Regions from separate parts of the Homo sapiens genome. Here region 2 is linked to region 1. The links are contacts of gene promoters, found by promoter capture Hi-C in blood cells and fetal thymus (Javierre and others, 2016). All regions are on one chromosome and are shown on one strand. Each heading gives the region's core, a stretch centred on a gene start or on the middle of the fragment in contact. The rest is flanking DNA. Distances are from core to core; before and after follow the strand shown. Region 1 holds the start of RSPH3 (radial spoke head 3). Region 2 overlaps DYNLT1 (dynein light chain Tctex-type 1).

Region 1 (2,977 bases), core at 196-2,695:
GTGGCTGGTATAGCACTATTGTTTACCCACTTAATACCCACTCAATTCTGCCCCAACATCCTCCTAACAGAATTTGTTCTCCTCCTCCCTGGCCAAGTGTTTCTTGGAGGCCTAGAAAGACCGGTTACCTGGTCTAATCCAAATATGGTGGTCTTATATAGATCCTAAGCTTAAATCAATATGATGTAATTCTGGTCAGTTGGGAGTTTACGAGGGGGTTTTGCTCTTCCAATAAAGACAAAAGAGCAGATACTTCTATTACTACTTTGTTGAAGCCAACAACCCAGGTGACAGAGTGGAAAGGTAGGGGAAAAAACGTGTTGTTGATAATGTGCTGAGCCCCCAAGTTACCCTCCAGGTTAACCAACCTGGGGAGTGTAAAATAATGAATTCCTTATTATTTCAGCCACTTGGAATTGGTTTTTTGTTACTTGAGGGAAAAAATATTCTAATTAATATGCTAGTGTTTACTGTTTCCACGATGTGGTGTCAGCCTGTCTATATATATTTCTACAACTCATCTACACAAACCTTGCTTACAGTTTTCCAAATGCACCTTGGGCTTCTTGAGCCTTTGATCAAGCCATTCCGAATGCACTTCCCCCAAGAGGCTGGCCAGTTAAAATACTATCATTTATCAAACACAACTTAAATGTCACTTTCTCCTCTAGCCCTTTCAGAAATTACCTCAAAATTAAATGATCAGACCTAAAATATGTTGGGAGTGTTTTCACCTCTAGAATTTACCATACACCTTTATGCTAGTGTTACTTATAGAATGCCTACATCTGCTTTAGGTCATACACTTCAAAGCACAGAACGGTCCAGATCTTAATATAAAGGCTTGCCATTTACCAGGCACAGCTCTAAGTATTAACGGTTTTAATCCTCAAGACAAAACCTAAAGAGATAAATTCTTCTATTGCCACTTTGTGGATTAGGAAAATGAAGCACAAAAACATTTAACTTGCCTGAGGTTTCGGAGCTAGTACATTCTAGAACCTGGATTCAAATCAAGACAGCAATTAGCTGAATGAAGGTGTAACTGCAAATGCAAATAACTGATCACAAGGGATACACATTCACTCATACAAGATAGAAGATTTTTAACGTTGCTGGTACTAAAACCAAAGCGTCTGCGTTTTTAAGCGCAGCCCCACCCCGCAATACTAGAGACATTCTTTAGAGCTGGAAGCCTGATAGATTAAGGGGAACTATGCCTTTGTATTTTTTAAGACTCAATAAATTGCTCACTTCTTTCCCAAAATGAGGTGTCTGTGGGGGAGGCCCCTGTCGCTCCGTGTGCCAAGGGTCCTCCGATTGCTAGCACACAGCGGTGAGCAGAGAAGGTAGGTGAGGAACTGCACTGACTCAGCTGCAGAGGGCGGCGGCAGCCCGCCCCTGGGGCGGGAGAAGGGCAGGAGCCGGGAGACACCAGGAAGCTCTTCCCCGCCCGGGCACGTAACAGAGCTGGGAGCCTGGCTGCCAGGGGCGTGTTATCGCGGGGGCAGCCTGGGAGCGCTGCTGCGCCGCGGCAGGAGAAACAGCCGAGGACACCCTGGAAGAGCAGGAGCACGTGGGCCTGCGAGAATGGCGCCAACACCAGCCCTGCAAAGCCACATTCCAAAGCCGGGCCAAGGACAGCCACCGTTGCCCCGCAGGCCTCAAGGATGACGGTCAAGCCAGCCAAGGCCGCCTCCCTAGCCAGGAACCTCGCAAAGCGCAGGCGCACCTACCTGGGTGGCGCGGCTGGGCGGAGTCAAGAGCCGGAAGTCCCTTGTGCCGCAGTCCTTCCCGGGAAACCTGGGGACCGGAACTGCCCGGAGTTCCCGCCCCCAGACAGAACCCTGGGTTGCTGGGCAACCGATGCGGCCCCCGCAGCTGGTCTCTGTGGTGCTGGGAGCGAGCCCAGTATAGCTCCCACCTCCTGCGCTGGTAACCTCCCGTCCCGCCCGCCTCCCTTGTTGTCGCCTCTCCTCGCGTCGCGGAATCCTTGCCCTTGGCACTACTTACATCTCTCCGGGTCCCACAACACCTTAGCGCCCACCTGCTTCAAAGCCAAGCTCCACCGAAAGCGAGGCAGTCAGCCCCCGGACATGGCCTCAGCGCTGACTGATCGCACCTCTCGGGCCCCGAGCACCTACACCTACACCAGCCGGCCCCGAGCACTGCCCTGCCAGCGCAGCCGTTACCGGGACAGCCTGACGCAGCCGTGAGTGACCAAGCCAGCCCCTGTGTGGTCCATACTTGCACCCCATCCCCAGGCCGGGGTCTGGCCCCTTCGCCCTGGCAAAAAAGCTGCTTATGCTGTCTTCCCTTGGCTGCACTCTGCCGAAATAAAAGTTCTGCCCTAAGGAATCTCCCGTGGTGTGGAGGAGTGAAGCAGGAAGGGGCATGGGTTGGGCATCAGTTAACTTTTAGTGATATGAGTTGCTGCCGTGGTCCTTAACATGTACACGAATTGGCTCATTTCACAAAGTTTGAATTGTACCAGTGTGTATTGAGGGCCAACTACGTGCTGAGCACCTTACGGGGGGCATTCAAATACGTTTTCTTAGTTAATCCACAGTGCTGTGAAGTTGATTTTATAACTCCATTATGCAGATGAGGAGACCGCGGTGCAAAGATATCCAACAGTAGCATATCCAAAATGGGAGCCGAGTAAATCTCTTCGGCAGGCTTTGAGCAGGAGTAAGATTATTCTTCCATGCAGGACCACAGATTGGTTTTTTGTGGTGGTGGTGGTGGTGGTGGTGGTGGTTGCTGTTGTTGTTTTGAGACGGAGTTTCGCTCTTGTCGCCCAGGCTGGACTGCAATGACGCGATCTCCGCTCACTGCAACCTCCGCCCCCCTCCCCCACTCCTCCCCGATCAAACGATTCTCCTGCCTCAGCCTCCCAAGTAGCTGGGACTAGAGGCGCCCTCCACCACCCCCGGCTAATCTTTGTATTTTTAGTAGAGACAGGGTTTTGCCACGT
Region 2 (2,977 bases), core at 169-2,668, 360 kb after region 1:
CCTGGAGTCGGAGGGCAGCACTGGGAAAGAAAAATAATTACCTGGAGATAATGTAATCATCGTACATTTTACAAGTAATGGTGCTTTAAAAAAATCTCCTCAAGGTCAAACTGATCCTCCTAATCAGTTTACATCATGGAAGAGAGAATTACATCTTAAATGGATTACTTCAGCAGCTTCAGTTAATTTATACAAAAATCAACCAACTCATTAAGCCTCTCTATTGGTTAATGATTCTAGCAGCCAGTTGAAATGGAAGAAGAGAATGAATTCTAGTTTAAAGTGAAGTCTTAGATTGTGGCATGATTAAAACAAAACAGGGCCAGGTGTGGTGGCTTACGCCTGTAATCCCAGCATTTTGGGAGGCTGAGGCGGGAGGATCACCTGAGGTCAGGAGTTCGAGACCAGCCTGGCCAACATGATGAAACCCCATCTCTACTAAAAATACGAAAATTAGCCGGGTGTGGTGGAGGGCACCTGTAATCCCAGCTACTTGGGAGGCTGAGGCAGGAGAATCACTTGAACCTGGGAGGCAGAGATTGCAGTGAGCTGAGATTGCGCCACTGCATTCCAGCCTGGGCTACAGAGCGACACTCCGTCTCAAAAATAAATAAATAAAAATAAAACAATACCTTTAAATTATGTGCATGTATTCTAGTCTTCTGGTTTCTGAAGACTGTAATGCCATCCTTGGTAAAGCTGAACAGTCTAGTTAGATTATTTCTAAGGTCTTCATTTCTACATTATGTTCATTACCTACATTTGCATTTATCAATGTAGTGGAAATATCTTTTAAATAAATCAAACTTAACTGAATGTTCTTCCTTACAGACTGCTTTTGTTGTTGATGAAGTGAGCAACATTGTAAAAGAGGTAAGAGGAGAAATGCTCACTTCTTAAATGTTTAATGGCTTATATTAGAGAAAATAATGTGTTTTAAATACTATCTTGGAATTGTTTCGACTGAGTCTGTGTGTTTTGGTGTTTCAAATAACAGTTTTTACTTCAGTAAATAGCTAGATAAGAGTTGCTTCTATATTATGTAAATTACATATTTTAAATCAGATAAGGAGTTTTATGTACATAGCATTATTACTGCATATCACCAAGATTTGATTCTATAATCTTTTAAGCATAAAAGAATCCTGGTATACAAATAAATGTCTCCAGGGTTGAATGAAGAAAGAGTGAGTATAAGAAAATTGAACAATCAATTTCCAGTTATTCTGGACCTAGTGATCCAGTTTGGGGCCTATTTGCTTACTTTTCTTACATTCCTAAATTTCACACTTTATTGTGTTGTTGATCATGAAGAGGAAGAGAGACAGAAGGGATGTTTGTTACTCATTCAGAAAGTACACACTGAGGGAGCGTGCAGGGCATAGACCCTTCTGGAGTTTACAGCTGAGGGGCAGGCAGGGCAGACACATCAAACAGTCCTGCTGGAAGGTGTCAGCCTGCATTTGCTGTGTGGTAAGTGCCACTAGTGGTGGTGCTGTGAGAGCACTGAACTGGGAATGTGACCCACCCAGGGAGTTCAGGGACCATTTCGAGCTGAAATCTGCAGAATGAGAAGTAGGGGTAATGCAGTAAAAAGAGGGGACAAGGCCCCCTGAGACTGGGAAGTGGGGGCAGTGCATGGTGTGTGAGGGAGTGAAAGGAGGTGGGTGTGGCTGGAGCGGTGCTGAGAGCTAGGGGCTCATTCCTACCTAGGGTAGGAATGAAGCCAGAAAGAGTTTTCCTCATCAGCTTCCCTGCCTTCCCTGGGTAAAATGGGGCACAGATACTAAAGCCATTGGCTAAAAGAAAACTATTAGATGATCTGAATTTAATGATACTGTTTGGGGTTTCAGATGTAATTTAGAATTTAATGTAAATTATTGACTAGTGTTTGATAAAAAACCGCAACCTATGTTTGTGATCAGTATCCAAAGGCAAAATGATTTTGTTTGACCATTTACATTGTTCAGCATCAGGAGTGACTTTCTGGTTGCTTTGCAGGATCTGTACGTTTGGTTTTCATGGTTTTTCTAAATACACAGTTTCACGTGGAACACAGCAGGGGGCAGGAAGGTGGGTGGATTACACCAGAACTGGGAACAGTGGAGGGGGCTTGTTGGGAAGTCTAGTTCTGCCGCAGTTGTTTTCTGCCTTATCTTTGACTTGGTTACCAGCTTTCAATTAGCAAGTGCAATTGAAAGTACACATTTCCATGCTGGGCGCGATGGCTCACACCTGTCATCCCAGCACATTGGGAGGCCGAGGTGGGCGGATCATGAGGTCAAGAGATCGAGACCATCCTGTCCAACATGGTGAAACCCCGTCTCTACTAAAAATACAAAAATAAGCCAGGCTTGGTGGCGCATGCCTGTAGTCCCAGCTCCTTGGGAGGCTGAGGCAGGAGAATCGCTTGAACCCGGGAGATGGAGGGTGCAGTAAGCCAAGATCACGCCACTGCAATCCAGTCTGGGCGACAGAGCAAGACTCTGTCTTAAAAAAACAAAACAAAACAAACACATTTCCAATCCACATGGAAACATGAGGTGACATTGCAGTGTTACTTGAACTTGTGTCACTGGCCTCAACAGCTTTTTTGCCGCCGCAATAGGTAATTCTGTACTCAAGTGACCCTAAATATTGGGTAGTAGTCAATTTGCGCAGGTCCAAAATTGGTGGAGGGTTCCCTCCTCCTTGAAAAACTGAATTTCAAAGTATGTGCGGAGGGAGAGCTGGCGGAGGGAGAGGTTTACCTTCAACAAAGCCTCCCCCACCCTTTGACGGGAGAGGTTTAGCTTGAACAAAGCCCCCCCTACCCTTTGACAATGCCCAGGTCTAGTAATACTGCTGTTCTCTTAAACCGGGACTTCTGGCCCCCCAGCCCTCTTGTAGCCTCTGAGCTGGGAGGGAGCACAGTGGCCGAGGACAAGAAGTAAGCCAGCCCTATGTGTAACGTGACTACTCAAGAGTCTCAGGGAGA

What was found. Contacts are between HindIII fragments. The CHiCAGO score rates a contact against its expected background, and 5 or more counts as called.
Region 2: a contact is called between a fragment that was not itself captured here and the fragment with the promoter of RSPH3 in region 1, in 4 of 17 cell types (non-activated CD4 T cells, fetal thymus, total B cells and 1 more). The highest score is 6.1, in non-activated CD4 T cells.

The regions. Positions count from the first base shown.
Region 1 is chr6:158,998,670-159,001,646 of GRCh38, reverse strand. RSPH3 (radial spoke head 3) reads left to right here and starts at 1,445. Exons shown (of 8, transcript NM_031924.8): 1 at 1,445-2,212. The coding sequence starts at 2,097. It overlaps TAGAP-AS1 (TAGAP antisense RNA 1), which reads right to left and starts at 1,774. Exons shown (of 5, transcript NR_183546.1): 1 at 1,255-1,774. RefSeq lists enhancers at 1,137-1,186, 759-1,730, 1,597-1,756, 1,927-1,996, 2,027-2,076 and 2 more. The HindIII fragment of the contact is 7,152 bases long and covers 172-2,977 here.
Region 2 is chr6:158,639,215-158,642,191 of GRCh38, reverse strand. It overlaps DYNLT1 (dynein light chain Tctex-type 1), which reads left to right. Exons shown (of 5, transcript NM_006519.4): 2 at 832-873. Among named protein-coding and RNA genes, the nearest start is that of DYNLT1, 4.0 kb to the left of the region's middle. The HindIII fragment of the contact is 3,851 bases long and covers 1-2,977 here.